2 separate regions of the Homo sapiens genome follow, and region 2 is linked to region 1. The links are contacts of gene promoters, found by promoter capture Hi-C in blood cells and fetal thymus (Javierre and others, 2016). All regions are on one chromosome and are shown on one strand. Each heading gives the region's core, a stretch centred on a gene start or on the middle of the fragment in contact. The rest is flanking DNA. Distances are from core to core; before and after follow the strand shown. Region 1 holds the start of MAGEL2 (MAGE family member L2). Region 2 has its middle 28 kb from the start of GABRA5.

Region 1 (5,985 bases), core at 702-3,201:
ACTGCATTTGATTGCAGGTAACTGAAACCACACAATGTGAAACTGCAGGCACAGGAGTGCTACTGTATTCGCTACCTGCTCATTAACCACTTAGTAGCTGCTTCAGATATCAGATCTACCATCGGTTTCCCAGTGTTTGTGTTCAAGGAACCCTTGTTTTACTTAGTAATAGCCCCAAAATGTAAGAATAGTGATCCTGGCAATTTAGGTATGCCAAACGGAAGCTATGAAGTGCTTCCTTGAAGGAAAAAGGTGAAAGTTCTTGACTTAATAAGGAAAGAAAAAATCGCATGCTGAGATTGCTAAGATATATGGCAAAAACAAAACTATCTGTGAAATTGTGAAGAAGGAGAATGAAAGGGATACATGGTATATATAAGGTTTGGTGCTGTCTCCAGGTTCGGGCATCGAGAGTTTTGGAATGTATCCCCTGCAGGTAAGGTGGGGGGGGCTACTGTATCATCAAGCACCCTTAAAAATCTGACTGTTTTGAAAAGAGTTTCCTGGGAATAACAACATCCCTTAAGTGTCCAGAAAATCACTGAAACTTTACCCCCAAATTCTTCTATTATTGTTTAAGGCAATAATAACATTGGGAGTGTGTACATACCTTCTCTTGGGTCCATAAATTACCAAATTTGAGGACCCCTGGCTAAGGGTACCTGGGAAGGAGTGGGGTGTACCCTTCATCGTCCTCATCTGCCCCCTGGTGGCACGTTTTGTCACTCTGGACTCCTGCCGTAGGCTGCCAACAGCCTATTTAAACGAAACATCCTTGATATTTAGTGCTTTGTATATTTCCAGAAAGCTTTTCAATTACTGAGATTATCACTTCCTCTCACCATAAAGTTGTATAGCATTGCCCAATAATACTATTGTCATCTGCTTTATCTGTTAATACTTGATTTGTCTCATATTTAAACTGATTTTTGTCACGAGAAGTTTCCCCAGAAATTTTTTTATTCTTTGCCTGTTTTTCCTATATATCCAAATATATCAATTTTTGATCTATTTATATACCCATTTTGTTATCTTCAGGTGCGTTATTTGGTTTTCATTTTTTAAATTTCTTTCCCATTCTGCAGATGAAAAATACTGAGAAACCTACTCTGTTCCTGCATCCGAGCCATTCCACAGGCAGTTTTCCCATACTAAAAATGCTGTCTTCCACTGATGTGTGGCATGTCTCAGTTCCGTGACTTCTTTTCCTCTCTCTCTACTCGCTGCTGTCCCTTTTCTCCATGTGTCTCTAACATGCCTGTGTTCTTCAAGACCCAGTGCAACCACATTCCCTCCCACAACTCTATTTTCATGAGGAATAGCCAAGCAGGACTCCCAAGACATCATACAGGAGTGCCTACAGGGTATCTCTCCTTGGCAGTCCCACAGCACCGCAAATGCCCTGTGTCTGCCAATACTCATCAGCCTCTCTTCCCGTGTGCCTCTCCTGGGACCCTAAGAGAGTAACAGTCCCTGCAACTTCCCACTTTCTCCAGGCAGGGACTTGTGTGCCTTTTCCATGTCTTTGACTCCTTTATTCAATTATAATACAGGTATCTGTCTGCTATAACTCCTGGAACTCTCTTATGTAAATGCGCTTTTTTCATTCTCCGCCTCACATCTTAGCCCAGACCACACCATCTCCCCCCGCCGTCTTGGATACCTTCCATGTTTCCAGTGGTCTGCTCCCACTCCACACTGCAGTACAGTGATTTTTCTAAAACATGGATGGGTTCCTGTCACTCCCCTGTGAAAAGTCATCCATGTGGAGTCTGACTGGTCTGCATTTGGGGACTGGACAGAGTGAGAAGGGATCCTGTGTCAGCCAGGACTCCGGTAGACGCCCCTATGCAATATCCACTTGTGGTGGTCGGGGGCGGGGAAGGGGCGGGATTGAGCCCCCTTCCCCCCTCCTCCTTACTGCGGAAAGCTGCGGAGCGAGCAGCACTCACTTCCTATTCAGCATTCAGCAGGGAGGGAGCCTCTGAACAGCCACGTAGGCATTCTCTTCTCTCTGGAGGAAAAGGCCCAGCAGCTGTCCGAGGAAAAGACCCACCAGCTGTCAGCAAAGGGACATGTCGCAGCTAAGTAAGAATCTGGGTGACTCGAGTCCTCCGGCGGAGGCCCCGAAGCCGCCTGTCTATAGCCGCCCTACGGTTCTGATGCGGGCCCCGCCCGCTTCCTCCCGGGCTCCGCCAGTCCCTTGGGATCCACCTCCAATTGACTTGCAGGCTTCATTGGCCGCTTGGCAGGCACCTCAGCCTGCCTGGGAGGCCCCACAGGGCCAGCTGCCCGCCCCGGTGGTTCCGATGACCCAGCCTCCTGCCCTAGGGGGCCCGATAGTCCCGGCTCCCCCGCTGGGGGGCCCGATGGGTAAGCCTCCGACTCCCGGGGTCCTGATGGTGCATCCTCCACCTCCGGGAGCCCCGATGGCCCAGCCTCCGACCCCGGGAGTCCTGATGGTGCATCCTTCAGCTCCCGGAGCTCCCATGGCCCATCCTCCTCCTCCGGGGACCCCAATGTCCCACCCTCCCCCTCCGGGGACCCCAATGGCCCATCCTCCTCCTCCGGGGACCCCGATGGCCCATCCTCCTCCTCCGGGGACCCCGATGGTGCATCCTCCTCCTCCGGGGACCCCGATGGCTCATCCTCCCCCTCCGGGGACACCGATGGCTCATCCTCCCCCTCCGGGGACACCGATGGCTCATCCTCCACCTCCGGGGACACCGATGGCTCATCCTCCCCCTCCGGGTACACCGATGGCCCAGCCTCCAGCTCCGGGAGTCCTGATGGCCCAGCCTCTGACTCCGGGAGTCCTGATGGTCCAGCCTGCTGCTCCGGGAGCACCGATGGTCCAGCCGCCTCCAGCAGCCATGATGACCCAGCCTCAGCCTTCAGGAGCACCGATGGCCAAGCCTCCAGGTCCAGGAGTCCTGATGATTCATCCTCCAGGTGCGAGAGCTCCGATGACCCAGCCTCCAGCTTCAGGAGCACCGATGGCACAGCCGGCGGCCCCACCTGCACAGCCGATGGCCCCACCTGCACAGCCGATGGCTTCTTGGGCCCCGCAGGCTCAGCCTCTGATCCTGCAAATCCAGTCTCAAGTTATAAGGGCTCCTCCGCAGGTTCCCCAGGGCCCGCAGGCACCCCCAGCGCAGCTAGCCACACCCCCGGGCTGGCAGGCGACCTCGCCAGGATGGCAGGCCACGCAGCAAGGCTGGCAGGCCACTCCCCTGACTTGGCAGACCACGCAGGTCACCTGGCAGGCACCAGCCGTTACCTGGCAGGTGCCGCCGCCCATGCGCCAGGGGCCCCCGCCCATCCGCCCTGGCCCACCACCCATCCGCCCTGGCCCACCACCGGTGCGACAGGCCCCACCGCTGATCCGCCAGGCCCCACCGGTGATCCGCCAGGCCCCACCCGTGATCCGCCAGGCCCCACCCGTGATCCGCCAGGCCCCCGCTGTGATCCGCCAGGCCCCACCTGTGATCCGCCAGGCCCCACCTGTGATCCGCCAGGCTCCACCTGTGATCCGCCAGGCCCCGCCGCTGATCCGCCAGGCGCCGCCGCCCATCCGACCTGCCCCACAGGTCCTGGCCACCCAGCCACCGCTCTGGCAGGCCCTGCCACCCCCACCTCCACTGCGGCAGGCCCCGCAGGCTAGGCTGCCGGCCCCGCAGGTGCAGGCGGCGCCGCAGGTGCCTACGGCCCCACCTGCTACGCAGGTACCCGCGGCGCCGCCCGCTGGCCCGCAGGTGCCCCAGCCTGTGCTGCCGGCCCCGCTGTCTGCCCCACTGTCTGCCCCGCAGGCTGTGCACTGCCCTTCCATCATCTGGCAGGCCCCCAAAGGTCAGCCCCCGGTGCCACACGAGATTCCAACGTCAATGGAATTCCAGGAGGTGCAGCAGACACAGGCGCTGGCCTGGCAGGCCCAGAAGGCCCCCACTCACATCTGGCAGCCCCTGCCTGCCCAGGAGGCCCAGAGGCAGGCTCCCCCCTTGGTCCAGCTGGAGCAGCCCTTTCAGGGAGCCCCGCCCTCCCAAAAAGCCGTGCAAATCCAGCTACCCCCCCAGCAGGCCCAGGCATCGGGTCCGCAAGCGGAGGTGCCCACACTGCCGCTCCAGCCTTCCTGGCAGGCACCGCCTGCAGTCTTGCAGGCCCAGCCCGGACCCCCGGTAGCAGCGGCAAATTTTCCCCTGGGCTCCGCTAAATCATTGATGACTCCATCAGGAGAATGCAGGGCCTCTTCTATAGACCGCAGGGGCTCCTCTAAAGAGCGCAGGACCTCCTCGAAGGAGCGCAGGGCCCCTTCAAAAGACCGCATGATCTTTGCTGCCACCTTCTGTGCTCCCAAGGCAGTGTCAGCTGCGCGAGCACACCTGCCAGCTGCCTGGAAAAACCTGCCTGCCACACCGGAGACCTTTGCTCCCTCCTCAAGTGTCTTCCCAGCTACCTCCCAGTTTCAGCCTGCCTCTCTGAATGCCTTTAAAGGCCCCTCTGCTGCCTCAGAGACCCCAAAGTCACTGCCATATGCTCTGCAGGATCCCTTTGCCTGTGTAGAGGCCCTGCCTGCAGTTCCATGGGTCCCACAGCCCAATATGAATGCCTCAAAGGCATCGCAGGCAGTGCCCACCTTCCTGATGGCTACAGCAGCTGCCCCCCAGGCAACTGCCACCACTCAAGAGGCCTCCAAGACCTCCGTCGAGCCGCCACGCCGCTCCGGCAAGGCCACCCGGAAGAAGAAGCATCTGGAAGCCCAAGAGGACAGCCGTGGCCACACGCTAGCCTTTCATGACTGGCAGGGCCCAAGGCCCTGGGAGAATCTAAATCTGAGTGACTGGGAGGTCCAAAGCCCTATCCAGGTCTCGGGTGACTGGGAGCACCCAAACACCCCCCGTGGCCTGAGTGGTTGGGAGGGCCCTAGCACCTCCAGGATCCTGAGTGGCTGGGAAGGGCCCAGCGCATCCTGGGCCCTGAGTGCCTGGGAGGGCCCGAGCACCTCCAGGGCCCTGGGTCTCTCTGAAAGCCCAGGGAGCTCTCTGCCCGTAGTTGTGTCTGAGGTCGCAAGTGTCTCTCCGGGATCCAGTGCCACCCAGGATAATTCCAAGGTGGAGGCACAGCCCTTGTCTCCCTTGGATGAGAGGGCAAATGCGTTGGTGCAGTTCCTCTTAGTCAAGGACCAAGCCAAGGTGCCTGTCCAGCGCTCGGAGATGGTGAAAGTCATCCTCCGAGAGTATAAAGATGAGTGCTTAGATATCATCAACCGTGCCAACAATAAGCTGGAGTGTGCCTTTGGTTATCAATTGAAAGAAATTGATACCAAAAACCACGCCTATATTATCATCAACAAGCTGGGCTACCATACAGGGAATTTGGTGGCATCCTATTTAGACAGGCCCAAGTTTGGCCTTCTGATGGTGGTCTTGAGCCTCATCTTTATGAAAGGCAACTGTGTCAGGGAGGATCTGATCTTTAATTTTCTGTTCAAGTTAGGGTTGGATGTCCGGGAGACAAACGGTCTCTTTGGAAATACTAAGAAGCTCATCACCGAAGTGTTTGTCAGGCAGAAGTACCTAGAGTACAGGCGAATCCCTTACACTGAGCCCGCAGAGTATGAGTTCCTCTGGGGCCCTCGAGCATTCCTGGAAACCAGCAAGATGCTTGTCCTGAGGTTTTTGGCCAAGCTCCATAAGAAAGATCCACAGAGCTGGCCATTCCATTACCTTGAAGCGCTCGCAGAGTGTGAGTGGGAAGACACAGATGAGGATGAACCTGACACCGGTGACAGTGCCCACGGCCCCACCAGCAGGCCCCCTCCCCGCTAATAGGTGTAGCAGAGATCTCGCTCCTGTGTTTCCCTGGCCAGAGGCCACTGACAGGGTGGGGGGACATTTTTGTTCCTGGTGTTTGTGTTCCAGTTCCACGAGTGTACGTTTGGATTTTCAACTTGGTTTCGTATCTGCCAAAGCTTTGTACATTTTTTAT
Region 2 (5,645 bases), core at 1,002-3,501, 3.2 Mb before region 1:
TGGGGCTGTTCTGGTTTTTCTAGGATTCATTCCTTTAGATTTTTGCGCAGCCTACAGTTTTCTTATTGAGGCGGTGGTGGGCGAGTGAGTATTTCGTTTTCCTTCCAGGACTCCTAGGGCCAGGCGATGCTTCCATCTTCCCTGCCACTGCAGAGTAGCTGCTGGTCCCACGGAGACTCGCAGCTCTCCAGTGCTTGCCTGTGCCTTCCTCTACCATGGGCCTCACGGGGACTCTTTCTCACCTGGTTCTGCTGAAGATGCTGTCAGCCCCAACGGTCACCTCGGCTACCCTACTTGCTTGCTTTGCTTTCACCACTGTACCCTCAGACATAAAAGGAACAAACAAACAATAATCAATAAACCTATGTTGCAACCATATTTTTGCTGCTAGACTTTCTCTGTTCTTTTTTGGGTCTGTCTTGGTAAGATTTATTTTTGTCCGAAAGTGATCATTTTATCTACATTGTCAAAGAATATTAGAACAAAGATTTTCACAATATCCTCTTATTATTTTTGTGATTTGTGTAGTGGTGCTCATGTTTTATTCCTAATATTGATTAAGTGTGTTTTTTTTTTTTCATTCTTGTTGGAATTTCACCAGGGATGTCATTATTTTTTGTCTTTTCAAAGAACTGAATTTTGGCTCTATTATCTTTGTTATAGGTGTGTTTTCTTTTTCTTTAATCTCTGCTGTTTTATTTATTCATTATTCTTGTCTTCTATTTTTTGAGAATTTGGTTTTCTTTGCCTGCCTTCCAGGAGTCTTTGGACATCTTTTCTCTTCCAAAATAAGCATCTATGGCTATAAACTTTTTCCAAATAATTTTTAGTTGTATTCCACAAGTTCAAAGTAGTTTTAAAAATATAGTTCATTTTGGATTTTTAAAAATCCTTATTTCTTCTTTGATCTATGGGTTGATTACCTAGCAAATGGCAATTTTGTGTTTATCTTTTTCCATTGGTTTTGAAATTAATTGCATTATGTTTAAGGAAAGTAGTACACTACTTTCTCCTTTTGAAATTTATTGAGACAGGCTGTACAATGGAATAACATTTGTAAATATTCCACCCGACCTTGCAGAGAGCATGTATTTCACATTTATTGGATAGAGTGTTCAATATGTGTTCATAAGGTCAATTTTGTGAATCATAGCGCTCAAGTTTTCTATAGCTTCACGAATATTTTGTCTATTATTAATAGATATGTGTACTGAAATTCTTACATTGTTATTGTAGATTAATCTGCTTTCCCTCATATTCCATAAATGTTTTCTTTAAAAGTTTAAAAGAATACATTGGTATATGAAAACAAATTTCAAACAGTTTATCTTTTCAGTAAATTGGATAATTTTTTTATTCTAAAATATCCATTTGATTTCCAGTAATTATTTTGCCTTAAAGTCTACTTAAAGTAGAAGTCTACTTTGATTGCCTTAAAGTCTGCAGCCACATCAGTTTCCTTTAGGGTAATTATTTCTAGTATATATCTCTGCATTCTCTATTTTTAATCTTTCTATTGAGTCGGATCATAGTTGAAATAGACATTTTTGTAAGTAAACATGAGTCACAAGCAATGTATCCTGTGGTAGATGTGTCTCTTGTAAACCATGTGGCTGGATTTTGCTGTTTGAAAAATATCCAGCCAATCTGAGAATTGTTTTAAATGGATTATATATTTTATTCATATTTATTGACAATTTTTCAATTTAATTTTGAACCATATATGAAATCACCATTTTTATGTATTTCTGTTGAAGTTACCCTCCTTGTCTTTTAGTACTATTTAGAATGCTGTCTCCAAAGCAAAAGGGCAAGAAAGGAAAGAAAGGGCATGTGTGTTTTCATCTTCAAGTGCTGTCATTATATACAGAGAAAGCCCAAACACTGCAATAAATACTAGAAATTGTTTTTAACAGTTTACAAAGGTGGCTGGCTACTTAATCCACATGTGTTCTAAGTGAAGCCTTACAAATCATCAAGAAGCATGTAAAAATACAAAGATAATCTCTTTCACATTAAACACAGTTGACAAAACACCTTAGAGTAAATGTAAGTACACTAAGGTTTTAATGAATAGAATCACAAAAAGTCATTGAAAGATGTAAAAAAGAGTTGAATAAAAGGTTAAGAGTGAAAATATCTGGCTGGAGAAACCCATTGAACATACGTCAGTTTCCATAGGTTTTACGTTACCGTGTCCAAATGTGGGAGCAAGCACTAAATTATAGAATTATTAGTACCGTTATAGCTCGGTCTGCTTTCATCTCTAATGTATGCACACTGCAATGAAGGATAGCATATATCAAACAGCACGTTACTTAACAGGGGGAAAGACCTGCTTTTAATTTTTTGTGCATTGCACAGGCTTACTTTGAAGCATTAACATTGGAGCTTTCACATATGTGTCTGTTTTTATACATTGCTTTGATATTCGACATTTATTATAACAAAACATAAAAAATAAAAAGGAAGGTGAAGGAGAAATGAACACATACGGAAAAACTGTCCTTTTGGAGAATGAATGAAAGTTGCAAATTTTCACCTTCTTTTGATTGTAATTAACTGACATTCAAAGGGTCTGAGCTAGGGCTCAGTCCTAGTCTCCGCCCGCTGGGTTCCGCTGAGCCCTAACTCGCCCTTCTACAGCCTCCTACACCTCTCCAAGCCCCATCTCTCTTCCTTGGAGAATCCAAGCGTGATCTTTACAAAAACAAAACAAACAAAAGAAATCCCATCAGCCCCAGCTCAATGGGTCCTCCTCACACTTAGAATAAAATGACAGTGACACCTGAGAGCCCCACAGGCCCTACATAATCTAGCCCCTGTCTCCACTCCGTCCTCCGTGCTCTCCCGCTCCATCTCACCCCTCTGCGCCGTTTCCACGAAGGTAGAGTCGCAGTTTTCTGAAGGAGGCTGGAGGGGTGACCTGGCCTCCTCGGAAGGGCAGGGCGAGCTCCTCTTCGCCCTCTTGTGGCCATGAGGAGAACTGTCCGATCGTGGCCAAGACGCCGCAGTGGGTGATGGAAGGACGCCAGAGCTGCCAATAAAGAGAGTGGGGCCGCCGGGCTCCAGTGTTCCTGCAGAGTGACCCAAGAACTCCTTAAGTACCAGCAAAAGAGCTGAACGACGAGACGTGGGCATCAGAGAACATATATCACACATTTAAAAATCTAGATAATGCAAAATAGATGAAGACGTTTGAGTGATGAAACAGTAGAAGCAGCAAACACCTGGCTGCCTAGAGAGGGAAACCTTGGAGAAGCTGACTGCCGGGTGCATCCCAGAGGGGGACTGCCAGGTGCATCCCAGAGCGGGAGAAACACCAGGCAAGATTGCTAACCGGGACAGAAACCAGGAGGTTAGTTATGTCTATGAGGAAGCCACGCAAGAGACTCCATAGCCAGACTTGCGCATAGAGGTAATGTGTATAACCCACAACCAGACCTGTGCACAGTGGCAAAACTTGGCAGGACCATTCTCAGGAAAATGGACAAATGAACATGGTCATAACTGGAATATCAGAAGGAGAAGTGGAAAGAATGGAACAAAGGAAATAATGGACAAGTTATTTACAAAATAAATGAAAGACACCAAAGTACAGATCTAAGTTCAGAGAACATCAAGCAAGAAAAAACAGAAACAAACAAACAACTAGGCATATTAGAGCCAAAGTGATACATGTGTAAGACTAAGAGAAAATCTTCAAGGCAGCTGGAGGAAAAAAATATACACTATTAGGTTGGTGCAAAAGTCATTGCAGTTTTTGCATTATTTTCAAATGGCAAAAACCGCAATGACTTTTATACTAGTATAATATGATATATTCAAAGGAACAAAGATAAGCATTACGGCTGACTTCAGAATCCATGCAGCTAAGAGACAACAGAGTGACACTGTTAAAGTGCTAGAAGAAGGAAAGGAAGCAAAACCCCCTATTGTGATTCAGTGAAAGTATCATTAAAAATGAAGTGGGTATAAAGACTTTGTTGGACAAAAAAAATTGTAAGAATTTATTACCAGCAGTTCTCCTGAAGAAAATTTAAGGAAGGTCTTCAGGAAGAGAAAGATGATACCAGATAGAAGTTAATATACACAAAGGAATAAAGAACACTAAAATGTAATCAGTGAAGGTAAAAATAAAATTATTTATTACATTCTTTTCCTATTCAAATTGTTCTAAAAGATTACTGACTGCCTAAATCAAAAGAAGGAAAAATGCATATTGTATGATTATAGCCTATGAAAAAGTAAAATTTACAATAACACAAAGGATATGAGAAATAAATTGGGAAAATACTGTACATTTTTTCACTGTTTATAAAGTGGTATGATATATGAAGAGAACATATGAATAATTAAAATGTATATGGAAAACTCTGTGGTAAGCTATAAAAATGGAAAAGATAAAAAAGTCAATAGAGAAGATTAAATGAGTAACAAAATGCTCAAGTAACCCAAGAAAAGGTAAAACAAGAGGGAAAAACAAAAATGAGTTGGAAGAGATAGAAAAAAATACTAGTAAGAGGGACATACATAAAGGGGGAATATGTCTCCAGGAAGACACACAATCCAAAATGTTTATGTACCTAGCAGTAGAGCTACAAAATACATGGAGCAAAAACTGATGGGATTAAAGAGGAAATGTACACATACATAATTATACTTGAGACTTCAACATTCCTCTTTCAGTAACTGACAGTGAAACCAACCCAATAGTCCCACAGACTGTCCATTTTGAATACACATAGAAATGTATCCTTTTGGTCTTAAAGCTTGAAAGTTATATTTGCTTTATCTGCGTTCCTTCCCCAGGAAAGGACCTTCTGGCCTCTTAAAAAAAGTATCAAAGAACTGAAACTCACCATATCAGTCTTCTCAAAAAAGTATAAAAGAACAGAAACACACCAGATCACCACATCAGATGCCAGGACCCTCATTTACCATGATTGCGTCTTTGCCACTCCCTAGGTTTTTTCTTACACATGGTTACATTTCTTCACTGCTATACAAACCCCTAGTTTTATTTGGTCAGGGAGATGGATTTGAGACTGAGCTTACATCTCCTCGGCTGCAGCACCCAATTAAAGCCTTCTTCCTTGGCAATCCTTGTTGTCTCAGTGATTGGCTTTCTGTGCGGTGGGCAGCAGGACCTAGATGGAACCTCTGGTGTTTCAGAAATAATAGAACAGTAGGCTGAAAACTGGTAAGGATCTAGCTAACCTCAACAATACTATCCAACAACTTGACTGAATCAGTGTATATAGAACACTATAGTCAACAATAGCAAGCATGTGGATATTACAACTTCTCTGCAGACATTAAAAAGATAACAAAGAAATGATAGCAACAACTCTATGCCCATCAATTCACAAAATTAGATGAAACCTAAAAATGATTTGAATGATACAGGCTATCAAAACTTGCTCAAAGGGAAGTATGTAAATGAATAGTTCTATGTCAATTAGATAAGTTGAATTGATAGCTCAAAACCTTCAATAAAAAAATTCCAAGCCCAAATGTTTTCATTGACAGATCCTATAAACGTTTAAGGAAGAAATAATACTAACTTTATTATACTTTCTCCAGTAAATAGAAAAGAGAACACTTCACAGTCACATTTTCAGCCAGAATTGCCCTAATAACAA

The links. The method cuts DNA at HindIII sites, captures the fragments that hold promoters and counts their contacts. A CHiCAGO score of 5 or more calls a contact.
Region 2: a contact is called between a fragment that was not itself captured here and the fragment with the promoter of MAGEL2 in region 1, in 2 of 17 cell types (M0 macrophages and endothelial precursors). The highest score is 7.9, in M0 macrophages.

What each region holds. Positions count from the first base shown.
Region 1 is chr15:23,643,833-23,649,817 of GRCh38, reverse strand. MAGEL2 (MAGE family member L2) reads left to right here and starts at 1,951. Exons shown (of 1, transcript NM_019066.5): 1 at 1,951-5,985. The coding sequence starts at 2,076. The coding sequence ends at 5,825. RefSeq lists an enhancer at 2,664-3,508. The HindIII fragment of the contact is 5,160 bases long and covers 811-5,970 here.
Region 2 is chr15:26,836,265-26,841,909 of GRCh38, reverse strand. No RefSeq gene overlaps it. Among named protein-coding and RNA genes, the nearest start is that of GABRA5, 28 kb to the left of the region's middle. The HindIII fragment of the contact is 5,046 bases long and covers 1-4,774 here.